Regions from separate parts of the Homo sapiens genome. Here regions 1 and 3 are each linked to region 2. The links are contacts of gene promoters, found by promoter capture Hi-C in human tissues and cell types (Jung and others, 2019). All regions are on one chromosome and are shown on one strand. The core of a region is centred on a gene start or on the middle of the fragment in contact, and the rest is flanking DNA. Distances in the headings are between cores, read along the strand shown. Region 1 overlaps ZNF516 (zinc finger protein 516). Region 2 holds the start of LINC00908 (long intergenic non-protein coding RNA 908). Region 3 has its middle 40 kb from the start of LINC00908.

Evidence for each region. The method cuts DNA at HindIII sites, captures the fragments that hold promoters and counts their contacts. A contact is called where the count stands out against the background at its distance.
Region 1: a contact is called between a fragment that was not itself captured here and the fragment with the promoter of LINC00908 in region 2, in 6 of the 25 tissues and cell types used here (bladder, dorsolateral prefrontal cortex, hippocampus and 3 more).
Region 3: a contact is called between a fragment that was not itself captured here and the fragment with the promoter of LINC00908 in region 2, in 7 of the 25 tissues and cell types used here (IMR-90 fibroblasts, aorta, heart left ventricle and 4 more).

The regions. Positions count from the first base shown.
Region 1 is chr18:76,483,640-76,487,851 of GRCh38, reverse strand. The region is part of intron 1 of ZNF516 (zinc finger protein 516); the gene reads left to right. Among named protein-coding and RNA genes, the nearest start is that of ZNF516-AS1, 5.9 kb to the left of the region's middle. The HindIII fragment of the contact is 4,856 bases long and covers 1-4,165 here.
Region 2 is chr18:76,526,295-76,530,752 of GRCh38, reverse strand. LINC00908 (long intergenic non-protein coding RNA 908) reads right to left here and starts at 2,098. Exons shown (of 3, transcript NR_015417.1): 1 at 1,790-2,098; 2 at 289-369. RefSeq lists enhancers at 437-1,076, 1,500-1,579, 1,077-1,715, 1,716-2,356. The HindIII fragment of the contact is 15,253 bases long and covers 1-4,458 here.
Region 3 is chr18:76,566,517-76,571,154 of GRCh38, reverse strand. No RefSeq gene overlaps it. Among named protein-coding and RNA genes, the nearest start is that of LINC00908, 40 kb to the right of the region's middle. The HindIII fragment of the contact is 3,940 bases long and covers 1-3,619 here.

The DNA of each region.
Region 1 (4,212 bases), core at 488-2,987, 43 kb after region 2:
GGAATGTATCTAGGGGCCATAGAGGAGACAGCATTTTTCAAATTCAAGCTCTGGCCTCAGTTTTCTCTGGTCCCAGGAACCAGTGAGTTTGGGAGTGGGGCAGGACATTCTCTTTGATAGAGGAATGACCTCTGCCCTCAGTTAAGACCACCCTCCCACCCACCATTGGATGAGAACTATCAGAATCGTTCGATTTTCAGGAATTTTGAAAAGGCACAAACCTATTGTAAGAAAAGAATCATGTCAAATGTTTACATTTATGAATAATTAATAAAATTAACCTTATGGGAGGAGGAGGAAGAAAGAACAACTTTTACTATGACTTTAGAATGTCTCCTGTTCTTTAAAAAGTATCTTTATTTTAAAATTAATTTTTCTAACTGAAGAATATTTTAGGGGAATGACTTAAATAGCTATAAGGAAGGATATATTTATAGGGGCTATAAATGCATCATTTGTATTTGAAATTTCTAGCATCCACTACAGTGTACGAAGTGTATTTTAGATGGACTGGTAAAAACCAGCAGTTGCAACTGTCTGTTTTGCATTCCTTATGCTCTGCATCTGGCCACACGTGACTTGAACAGCTGAAGCTTCTCTTTCCAAAGCTAGAGCCATCATCGTATTTATGTCTAGCCTGAGATGTTTTCCGATGGTATACATTCGAATTGTAAAGCAGTGTAATTTGTGGCTCTCAACATGCCTTAAAAGTCATTTCCAAAAAAGATCTGGCATTTAATCTTTAATTCAAATGGTACTGAAAATTACAAAGCAGGAGTAATTAGAAATGCAACTATTTTTAGAAAGCAAACATGTAAATATATGTTAAGTGATGACTAAAACACAAGCAGGAGAGTAGGAAAAATTATTTAAAAGACAACTATAGTAGGTTTAGATACATCTTACCATATACTGTATTTTAACTCTGTGTTAATTCTGGTAGATTTACTTCGTATTCCTGTTTCTGTACCTTCCCCCCGAACCTTGGTCAGGAAGTAAGTAAAGTCTATAGAATCTCAGAATTTACTGGGCCGAGAAGAGATGTATATCGTATGTAATTGTGAAATCCAGACAGTTCCTCAACTGAGTGGTGAAAATGGGATGAAATCTTAGTGTGTTTTGTTATCTTCAAGGCAGAGGGAATCTGGTGTTTTTTTTTTTTTTTCCTTCAAAACCAGGTAGACAACGTCTCTCACCGCCCTGGGGAGTTGCTGGTGCTGGCTCAGCCTCCAGGATACAGCTGTCCTGTTATTTTCTTGCTTTTTTAGGAGATGGTGTGCGTAGAGGAAGATGTGGTGTTAGTTTTCAGGACACAGTTAAAGACAGGCTTAAAAAATCAAGGTTCTCTATTAAAACTATAATTTCTTGTTAATGGCTAAGAATTAAAAATTTTTCAGCGCTATTAACACTTGAAGAACTCTCTAATCCCCCACTCTTCCCATGTGAAAGTAAAGGACATTTGTTTAGGAATTTTTTTGTTTCAGAAAAGGGCAACATGTGTCTGTCTTTGCCATATGGTACTATTTAACCTATATTGCATGAGCTGACAAGACACTGTGTTTGGGCATTGATTTATTTTAGCATTCGAGAATGTTCTTTGAAATTTAGTACAGTAAATGATGCATTGAAAGTTGTACAGAATGGTCGTTTGTGGCTTTAGCAGATTCTTTCTCAGTTGATACTTAAGGGTGTAGTGAACAAGTTTCACTTTTTTTCCACCGATACAATTTTTGTGAGAAATAGTTTGCCATTCAATGCTGAGTGACTGTTAATTCAGGAAAACACAGACTTGAATATAAGTAGTTAAGACTTCTGGGGGTCACAAATAAGGCTAAGAGTTGGGCAGGTCAGAAAGAGAAGATTCACTGTTTAGTTCCTGATTATTCTGGTGATTTTAACCTAGAGCAAAAAAGTATGTTTATTATTATTATTATTTTTGTCAAAAAGACTCAGCTTTTGTCCCCATCTTTTTTTTTTTTTTTTAAAGAAATGAGTTAATGAACAAATGGACAATCCTATTTAATAGTTCCCCTGAGCTTCTGTGGTGCGGCCCTGGAATTATCTACAGGCAGAACTGAGATGTTTTCACTTAGGCTGTGTTTTGTTTACACATGCTGGTTTGGGTTTTTGGGTAGACCTGTGTTGAATTCACAGGGTGGCTCTTATGCCATGTTGCAGGAATTTATTAGTATGGAACCCCACAGAAGATTCCACCTCCATTTTTAACATTCTGTATGGCTGTCGAGTCGACACCAAAGCAAATGTGTCTCCAGACACCTCTCTCTCGTTGTCTCAGTCTTGTTGGCTTTAATCATCCTGTTTTCTCTGTTTTACGAAAGAAGTAAACAAATTTCTATTCATCCACACGTGTGTCCCCAAAGCAAGGCATATGTGGACTGAAAGGTGGGCTGGGGCTTTGCTTCGAGAACGTGAGCGAAGAGCGTGTGAGTGCACGTTGCCTTTGGTGATGCATCATTTATATTGACATTATCAGTGACACAGACAGAACATTTTTATGCCAGTTTGAGAAAATACCATCATTCACATTGATAATCATATTCCCCCCAGATTTAGATTAATCATTTCAAAGCTTTTCATGTCTTTAGCATGACCATTAGCATAATGATGATAATTTGTCCCTTTGAGTAACACCAAGCATAATTTAAATTAACGTTATTGTGTTGAGTGCAGTGCAACCCCAGGTGCTCAAGTAGCTTCCTTTTTTCAAAAATGGCTTTTTACTTTTTAAAATGAGAGGCAAGCAAGACGATCTCATTCCTAAAACCAACTTAAAAAATAAAAGTGTTAATAAATAAGTGAATTCCTAATGTAAAAGTGCTTGCCGTAGCAACGTAAACTTGGGGACAATTCTGTAGAGTCATGCGATTAGTGGTTTAGTGGTAGGATTAAAATTAGCCTCGGTAAATTACCCTGGTGACAGAAAAGCAGAATCTGTTAATGGTTTCACAGGAAGATTGGCTTATCAGTTATTTTCTAGGTTGATGAAAGATTATGGGCTGCTAAGAATTTGAACTTTAGAAAGTAAGGTTGATTTTCCTAATATTTACATATTTTAAAGTATAGGTATTGATTAAAAAGAAAGTTATTACAGTTAGAATTTGGGATTTTATATGTGTGTGGGAGATGATTTACAAACCAGGTTTTTTGCTTAGCTGTGAACATTAAGGGGGCCGTCGAGAGTGTGTGTTTTAGGCAATCCTTAAATCCCGTCCAGGGGAATAGTAGACCATTTTGGAAAGCATTTTACATGTTTTGGACCCACGAAAACTCCATTTAGATTCCTACAAGGTGGTAGGTGATGAAACTGCACCTTCTTGGCCCGAGCGGGGTTAGGGCGGCCGCCATTTTAGAGCACGGTGTTATATCGTTAGGAGTGTTACATTGACTTGGTGTAATGACCGTGAAGGAAAGCATTTGCTTTCGTGATTGTTTATGTTTCTTTGTAAACTTACATTATTTGTATTTGGGCTTGTTTTAGAAGGTTAATATAGACAATCATATATGTGTTATAACTGCAGGAAACTTGGAGGTGATTTTTGAGTGAATCCTGACATTTTACAGGTACTGAAATGCAGAAAGATTTAATAACTGAGCCAAGGCCACAGGAATGGTGCAGAGCTCAAATCCAGGCGTCCTGATTCCCAGCTTAGCCTTTTTCTCCATACGCTGTGCTGAATGCACAGAATAAGGGGAGGTGAAAGTCCACTCTGAAAAGGAACTTGGTAAGCGTGTTGTCATGCTGAGTTAGCACTGCCAAGTGTGGACCTGGCAAATAACCAGGTGTTTAGGGCAGTGTAGGGAGAGCCCCCCTTCAGCTTTGCTTGGATGCTTAGAGCTTGCTCCACAGAGAAGAAACATGTTGAGTAAATGTTTGCGTCTTTCCACGGGGATGTCGTGCGAGTTGGGCACTGGACCAGTTGTTGCTGTCTGAGGCTGCTGTCACATGGCAGCGCTCAAGGAGGAACGTGGAAAATCTGGTCACCAAAGACCAGGCAGCTATCTGCGCAGATTCCCAGCCCCGCAGTGGGTGCCAGGATACAGGTTTTCTTGCGAAACCCAATGGTTATCACCAATAGTAACATATTTTTATAAGAGAGTAAATACAGAGTGTAAGTGACCAACGTGGGATATAGAAAATCCTAAAAGAAAAAAGCCACCAAAAAATCATAGGGAAAGGGGTCGGAGAAGACC
Region 2 (4,458 bases), core at 849-3,348:
AGGGCACCTCACCCAAACACAGGTACCCTCCCTGGACACAGCCTGTCCCCAGCGAGTGGCCAGCGCATGGGTGCAACGCCTGGCCTCCTGCCTCAGGGGGAGTGACTCTCAGGGCTCTCAAATTCAGAGCCCTCCATGGGGTTGGCCGAGGCCTCTGTTGCAACTGTTCCTCAGTTCACCTTCCTCTTCTGCCCACCCTGGGTCCTGCCATTCTTCAGGTGTGGCTCCTGAGAGCACCGGCCTGTGAGACCCTGCGGAGAAATCACCGCCAACCGTGTGAGCACTCACCGCAGGGAAACAGCCTTCCACCACCTCCGCCTCCTGCTCTTGACCAAGCCCGCTAGGAGCACTAGGCCTCAGCCTCCTCATCTGTAAGACAGGGGCCAAAATGGTCTTAATTCTCAGAGTGTCATAAGCATGAAATGAGAGCGTGCACAGAAAGCCCTTACTTAGGCTTGGTGTGTAGTGAACGCCCAATAGAAGTGCTTGGTGTGCAGTGAATGCACAATAGAAGAAGTGATATGTGGCCGGGCGCGGTGGCTCACGCCTGTAATCCCAACACTTTGGGAGGCCGAGGTGGGCGGATCACGAGGTCAGGAGATCGAGACTATCCTGGGTAACGCGGTGAAACCCCGTCTCTACTAAAAATACAAAAAATTACCCAGGCGTAGTGGCGGACGCCTGTAGTCCCAGCTACTTGGGAGGTTGAGGCAGGAGAATGGCGTGAACCCGGGAGGCGGAGCTTGCAGTGAGCCGAGATCGCGCCACTGCACTCCAGCCTGGGCGACAGAGCGAGACTCCGTCCCCCCAAAAAAAGAAGTAGCGGTATGTATGATGTTGTTCGTCACAGAAAGCATGGAAAATACAGAAAGACACAGAGAAGAGAGTAAATTCACCCATGGGTCTACTGCCGGGTTAACAGGCACTACCAAGATTTCAGGTGGTGGGGGCGCACGCGCATGCGCACCAACACACGGGCCCTAGAAAAATAAACTCGGGATCCTAAGCGTGTACGCTGCGGTGCCCACACACGCGTCTGCCGTTCTCACCCCGTTTTCTGCTTTAATTTTCTGCTTAAATTGGTCATTTTCTGTGAAATGCACATTCCACTTCTGGGTAGTGTGCACCGCCCATCTCCCCCACGGAGTGCAGGAAGGTGGCAGCGGGGCTGTGTTCCAGGCCAAGGCCACACAGCCCGGGGGGCCGCACGCGGGGGCAGCCTTGGTACACGAGGCCTTTCATTTGTTGGTTTTACAGCTGGAAGAATTCGGATATACTTATTGACCGAGAGAAGAGTCCAAAACTCAGGAGTGGAAAATAACGAAGAATGAAGAAAGGAAACAGGAAGAGGTTGACCTGATTGATGGAAAGGAGCTCCTCTTTCTCCAAAACCAGAAGGAAAAGGAAGATTTAGAGAGCAGAGGAGGGTAAGTTTCCCCCGGATAATATGGGTTCAGTTGCATAATACGGCCAGGATGTTATCTGCAAAGAAGCTGTGGGGAGGAGAAGGCAGAGCAAGGAGCGCAGGGCTGAGACTGTGGGAGATGCAGCCGGAAATGACAAAACAGAAACAAAACGTGACCAAGGCCATTTGGGGTCCAGCTGAAGTTCAGCGGCTTAGATGCGTAGTAAGTCCCATGAGCACTGTTGCACGACTTGCCCACAGCTGTTCACATATGGACTTTGCAGCTCACATTGACTCTGGCCAGGGCGGGAGAGCCGGGGAGCCAGGCAGGTGCGTGGGAAGGGAGAGAAGAAAGGGAAGACGCGGTGCCCATTCCATATTTACCTTAGTAGTCATCCAGACGCACTTCCCTCTCCAATCCCCAAACAAGAAGAGGCAGAAACTGTCTACCAGTTAGACGGGAGGTGTCAGCGCCCCTGGAGGCTGTGGCCATTGCCAGGGAGACCCCACTCTGCACAGCTCACAAACACACCGTGTGTGTGCAGGGTCCTCACCCGCCCTGGGCAGGAAATGGGGGAGTTCTACGTCCACTTTGTCACGCAGACAATGGAGGGGACCGCAGAAGGGGCTTCCCCAAGGACACAGAGCCAGTGGCCGCCTCACTGTGTGCCCCTCAGTGGGCGTTTCCACACTGCCTGGCAACTTTGAGAACAGCCGCTTTCGCTGGGTCTCCAGTGAAACTTGAAACCATTTGCATCTGCAAGTACTTTACTTATTCCATTTCAAAGGCATGCACATTTTTAAAGGGACACTGTTTTTAGCTCCTGCGTCACTGACTCATCCCGCATAATTTGACTTTATGGGACAGGGTCCCCTAAGGAGTGTCCTTGCCTTGACAGTCCTGTCTTGAAAGCTGTGAAGACCAAGTGGTGCCATATATATTGTTTTAAAATTATGGACTACCTAGAAAAGAGGTGAAATAGTAAAAAAAAGCAAAACTTTTAATATTCAATGACAAACACAGACAGAAAATAGGGAAAAATTAAATGTTAATGTGTTGGGATGATTGGATTTTGAATAAATTTTATTTATTGAATTGATATGAAGTTTATGGAACAGGGATAAACAGTTTGTTTCATATGATTATATATTTAGGTATTCGTTGACATACATATATACGTATACATATACACGTATGTATTGCCGTGTGTACATATAGACACATAGCATGTATGTATAAAACATATACATATGTGCCAAATTACAAAACGAGAAGTCGTGTTGCTCATCCTGCTCTATTATAAGAAACCTCAAGCAACAGTAGGTACTGGAAAATGCCAAGTCTGCATGATCCCGGCAAGGGCAGATCCTGCCACTGGAGTTCTGGAATGCATCTCTCCCCACTTGGCAAAGATGCAGGGTGCAGAGGGGGTGTCAGCAGAGGGGCTGGGTGCAGAGGGGTTGCAGACTTACCACAGGAGGACTTTATCAAGAGATGTGGGTTTTCTGGGCATCCAGGACACCCACAATGGGGTGACAGAATTGTCTGTGGAGTGGAGTCCTAGTATTGAACTTGGCAGCTGCTACCGGATGCTCTTCTGGCACCTATGTTTTCAGAAAAACAGGAGCTGGCCAAGAGTATTTGCCAGATTTCTCCCTGGATTGGACTGATTTCTGCACTCAGCCCAGGTTTGTTTTTTTTTTTTTTTGGTGTGTGCCCCCGCGCCCGGCTAATTTTTGTATTTTTAGTAGAGACGGGGTTTCACCTTGTCAGCCAGGCTGGTCTCGAACTCCTGACCTCAGGTGATCCGCCTGCCTTGGTCTCCCAAAGTGCTGGGATTACAGGCGTGAGCCATGGCACCCGGCCTCAAACCAGCCTCAATCTGAAGGACGTGCATACTCTCCACAGGTCCCACAGGTCTTTCTAGGGTCCTTGCCCCTTACGTGCACTTCCTCTCTGAAGAGGTCCTTCCTCCACCATGTTGTCCCAGCCTGAAATTGTCCCTCATTATGGAGACTTGAGTGGTGTCTCCCACTGACTCCTCTCTCAAGGGGTGAGGGTTTGCTTGACCAGACACCAGCAGTGGGGCACACCCCTTCCAGTTCACCCTGATGAGCTCCTTATGCCACCACAGGGTCAAAATCAGGTTTAATAGCAGCAGCATTCGCAGTAGCCACAAAATGGAAACAACTCAAGCACCCCTCCAAGAGGGGGAATGGATAAGTAAAGTGTGCTGTATCCCCACGATGGAATATTATTCACTCATGAGAAGGAGTGAAACACTGGCACATGCCACAACGTGGATGAACCTTAAAAGCCTTATGCTGAGTGGAGGACGTCAGGCACAAAATACCACAGATTGTTATGAGCCCAGTTGTATGAAATGTCCAGAAGAGGCAAATCCATAGAGACAGAAAGCAGATCCGAGGTCGCCAGGGTCTGAAGGAGTCGGGGATGGGGAATGATTGCTAATGGGTCCAAGGGGGCTTTCCTTTCTGCATGAGGACAGTGTTTTGAAACTGGAGGTGATGGTGGCATAACACCGTGACTACACTAAATGCCACTGAGTTGTACACTTTTGATTTTAGGCTATGTGAGTTTTACTTCAGTTAAAAAAATAGATTGAAGGCTCAGAGAGATTTAGGGGTGGGAGGGTAAGGATTTAGGATTCAAAAGAACTTGACTAAGGAGCTGAGAATCTTAAATATATTTCCAGTGTCATTGGGTTACTGGCTGACCTCTGTGTGCTACCTTGGTACCCTACCCCAATCGACGCTTTGTTCTATGAGAAAAAGCATTCTGAGCTTCAAGTAACTGAAGTAACTGATTTATAAACAAACCGTTGGAATATAATCTTTTTCTTTTTAATTGTTGGGGACTATCTGTAATTTAGTCTCTAAAATATAGTTAATCTTTGGCTCTTGCTCTGAATTAATCAATAAAAAAGACATCATAGTGGTAATCTTTGGGGGAAGTGAAATTCAATTTAATCCATTTTTTCTATTTGTTAGCTCCTCCGGTAATTGGTTTGATGGGGAAGAAGTTTGAAGTT
Region 3 (4,638 bases), core at 400-2,899, 41 kb before region 2:
ATGTCTTTCATCTTCAGCTGAAGAAATCTAGCCATAGCTCATTCTTGGGGATGTGATGGCTAATCCTGTCTAGATACCAACTTTTACCACAGGATACCAAAACTGAAACTTCCAAGGTGTGTCCCAATTTCTTATATGGATGTGACATCAGCTGAGGCCCTCAGAAGGGATTGAGTTTGACGTAAGACATGGCAGGAGAGGCTGGTGTTGATGTCCTCTGAAGATACGTGTTCCCAGGAAAAGGCTATGTAAGGGAAAATCCACTTTAAACAAGAATAAAACTTTCATAATAAATAATGAAAAAAAAAAGGTCAGTTGATGGTTTTACCTTGAAACCAAATAAAACCGAATTATATAAATTTATTTTAGTTTATACAAAATTTAAGTTATAATTATGCAATAATCCTTAGATTCAGCAAAGAAGGCTTCCAGTGTTACTGTTTTTCTGGTGTAATTTTTCCAACAAAACTCTAAGCCAGCAGGATGAGACACCCCCCCAGCTTACAGCGCTCCCCCACGAAAGGCCATGTCTGCAACACTCTTGCATCGCTGTATCATCTTTCTCAAAGGCGTCTTTAACCGGAGCTGTGCGGATGCAGATCTCTTAATGCTGTTGTGCCACTTTCCATGGTGATTACTTGCTCTTTAATTGCTAATTATAGTTAACCGTGTGCCAGTGACCGTGGGAAAGTCCTGAGCAATTCTCCAACGTCACTTTCATTGACTTCATGAAATCCCAAATTGCCTGTAAGCTTTGCTGTTGTATTTGAAATGGACATATGCAAAGCTGTGGCCTCACCGAGGCTGCATCATCTCCACTGAACAGCCTGCAGGGCGGGTACAAAGGCTCGTCCCTTTGCCTTTGTTTGGGGCCACTCTGAAGGCCCCCCCACCAACCCCAGGTCCAGAACTCCCACGGAATGGGCAGAGGCCTTGGCTGCAGCTGCTGGCCGGTTAGACTCCTCCCTTGGCTCCCTCTTCACTCAGTGCAGGCTTCGTCCTGAGAGTGAGGCCTGTAACTCCCCAGCACACACACTGGTCTCAGCGTCCGTTCTAGGGGGCAAACTGAAAAGCTTCGATTTCCACCTATTTTCATCTTGTTTAATTCCCACAGCCATTCTGGGTCATAGACAAAGGTGTTAGTCCTTTCATGTTCAGACTGAGGATGCCAGAGCCCACAGGTGGAGTCACTTGCGTGCCAACTTTCACCAGAGCCCACATGTCAGAGCCCAGACTCACACTGCATTTCAGGACTTTCATCCTAATGCACAAAGCCAGAGATGAGGACTGGAAAACAGAGAGTGATGATGACGACACCAACGACAAACGGAATAAATCAGCTGTGCAGCTATGGGATTCTCCTCATTCAAACATTGCGAAGGGATTTACCAATGGCATTGAGGTCTGCTAACCTTGACACTCTGCACATGAGCCAGGAAAACTGCTCTCAGCCAACAAGTGAACGTGACCTGTGGGTGTGTCTCTCCTTCTAATTCTTGCTAGAAGTTGCCACCATGCCATGGACCCCACAGTCTCTCTGACCTGGCTACAAGCCATGTTCACTGCAGGAGAGTTTCCCCCAGTGGCTGGAGGCCACTCCGTCATACCCACACTTTCCACCTCATTGGAGGGAGCGGGTTGTGGAAGCACAAGGAAAAGATCAGAAAGCAGCCGGGGAGGAGTCGCGGAACTCAGAACCTCCCACATTTTATCATGAGCCCTATGAGTCCAGATATATGTTACAGGCTGGGCACGGTGGCTCACGCCTGTAATCTCAGCACTTTGGGAGGCTGAGGTGGGCAGATCACCTGAGGTCAGGAGTTCGAGGCCAGCCTGGCCAGTGTGGTGAAACCCCGTCTTTACTAAAATTAGCCAGGCATGGTGGAGCATGCCTGTAATCCCAGCTACTCCGGAGGCTGAGGCAGGAGAATAGCTTGAACCCGGGAGGAGGACGTCGCAGTGAGTTGAAATCGCACCATTGCACTCCAGCCTGGGCAACAAGAGCGAAACTCCATCTCAAAACAAACAAACAACCCAAAGTATATGTTATAAAAATCTAATAGTTTATTCCCCCAATAAGTTAAGTTAAAAAAAAAACAACAAAACACTAAGTGCTGTGTGGACCTTGAATCTCTCTTCCATTATCCTATTCCTGCCTTGCCACCAACTCTAAAATGCTGTGTCATTTCTGAGTTTTGGATTTCCCCTTGCAAGATGAGTTGCAACAAGCCCCTGGTACAAACAGCTCTGGTGCAAATCCACAGGAAAGACTGCAGCCGCAAGCCTGCCATGAAGATGGCCCTGTTCAGAGTATGGGAGAGTCACACAGCTTTCCAGCCAAGGAAGGGCTCCAACCTTGGAGAGAACATTCTGGAATGTAGTTTGTTAGGAACAAACCATCTCCTTTCCATGCCTCCCACTCCCCTCCTCATTTGAAAAAGACAGTCATGCGCAGGCAAATACTACTGAACTTTATACTCTGCCAACCAAGAAAGAAAAGTGCTTCACCTATGTATCAATTCCACGAGGTCCGATACTTTTGATATTTCAAATTCAAGCGCAGTGCTTGGAGCCCATGCTAGGTGGAAATTCAGAATGCACTGTGAACCTTATCCTGGGCTCCGGCCCCTGCAATGCAGTTCTTATCCTGTGGGTTGGCCCACCAGTCCCCCAAGAGCTGCATTCAGCGGAGTGAGTGTTTTTCCCTTTTTCAAAGCTCCCAGCCCTAGGAAAGACAGCAGCCACCTTCCCTTCCACTGAGACCCCAGCCACCCCTCTGCACATCCTGGCTAGGTGGTAGACACGTGTCTCTCATCTGCAGGGTGAGATCTGCTCAGGCAGGGGGACCCTCACAGCAAGGATGCTCGAGCCCAGCGCAGTGTGGGGTGCATTGTGGGTTCATCCAGTGGGCTGTCACCACGGGTGCCCCAAGAACTGCATCAAGGGGCCCTTTTAGCTCTGAGGTGGACCTGGGGGCAGGACGGCAGTGTGGTTTTAGAGTCATAATAATATCCACCTTCACGCATCGCTGCCCTGATCCAAGGATCATAGGCCAAACGGTAGGGCATCTGCAGGGGGTGTGTTACTGTCTGTTCCCGACCTGAGTGGCCTCTGCCCCATGTTCTGGAGCTCCTCCCAGGCGAGCCAGGCGCAGAGCACACCTTGGCAGTCATTGCAGGCTGGATGATTTCCCCAATATCTGTGCGTGTGGCCTTCTGTGGAAATAGCATCTTTGCAGATGATCAAGTTAAGATGCGGTCAATAGGGTGGGCCCTAATCCAATATGACTGTGTCCTTATGGAAAGGGAAAATGTGGCTACGGGGACAGACATGCGCATAGGAGGAAGGCCCTGTGAAGATGAAGGCAGGGACCAGGGGATGCTTCCTCACACAAAGGAATGCCCAAGAGTGCCAGCAGCCACCAGAAACTAGGAGAGGCACCTGGAAAGATTCTCCCACCCTGCCCTCGGGAGGAACCCACCTTCGGTCCTTGATCTTGGACCTCTCCTCCCTAGACCTGTGGGGGAATAAATTCCTCTTGTTTAGGACTCGCGCTCTGTGATGCTCTGTTGTGGCAGAGTCTAGGGAAACCAACACAGAAGTGGAAGCTGACCTTCCACCTCTCTATGCACACGGGCGACCTGAGCCGACTGCTGGGCCCTCAGGGGCAAGTGCTGTCCTGTCCACCTCCAGTGAGTACTGCCCAGGGCCACATCCCAAGATGGGCCACAGAAGAGTCACTAGCTGTCTCTCCACCTGCCAGTCATAAAGGTAAGGAGGGGAGGGGAGGGTCAGAGAATGCACCACACCGTCAGGGAGAGAGAGAGACAGAGAGAGAGAGAGACAGAAGGAGAAAGAGACAGAGAAAGAGACAGACGTGGGGGTGGGGAGAGAGACAGAGAGAGGGAGAGAGACAAAGAGATTGGGAGAGACAGAGACAGAAAGAGACAGAGACAGAGACAGTGAGAGAGAGACAGAGAGAAGGAGAGAGAGACAAAGAAAGAGAGACAGAGAGACGGGGGAATGGGGGAGAGAGACAGAAAGAGGGAGAAAGACAGAAAGACAGAAACAAAGAGAAAGACAACGAGAAGCAGAAAGAGGAAGACAGAGAGAGGCATAGAGAGAGAGACAGAGCGAAACAGAGACAAAGAGATACAGAGAGAGAGACAGAGAGAGAGAGACAGGTAGGGGAAGGGAAGAGGGAGGGCTCCTCCTGGTCCCGGTGGCCAATGTGAAGGCCAGAGGGAAGCAGGGAGCCCTCCTGGGCAGCTCCTCAGGAAATAAGGGGAGAGGACAGCCTCTTTCAACAGATGGACCAGTCTTTGGGAGACAAGCTCTCCCCATGGGATGCCATCTCTCTTCTCCACCCTGTGTCTTATGAACGTGGCCTTGGTGCAGGGCCTCCCTCTTCAGACCCAGCAGAAGTGGCATTGCATGCACACCAGTTTGAGTGGCATAGTTAAGTCCCAGTTGACCGAAGTCCCAACCTACACTTAGACTTTCTCAGACCAGTGGCCACCTCCTCCGAAGTCCCCCAGAGAAAGAAACCCCTGCCTTCTGTGCTGGCTTTTAGGAACTCCCAGGATTACCCAGCACTCTCCCCGTCCTCCGGAGAGGTGGGATCCGAGGAAAGGGCGA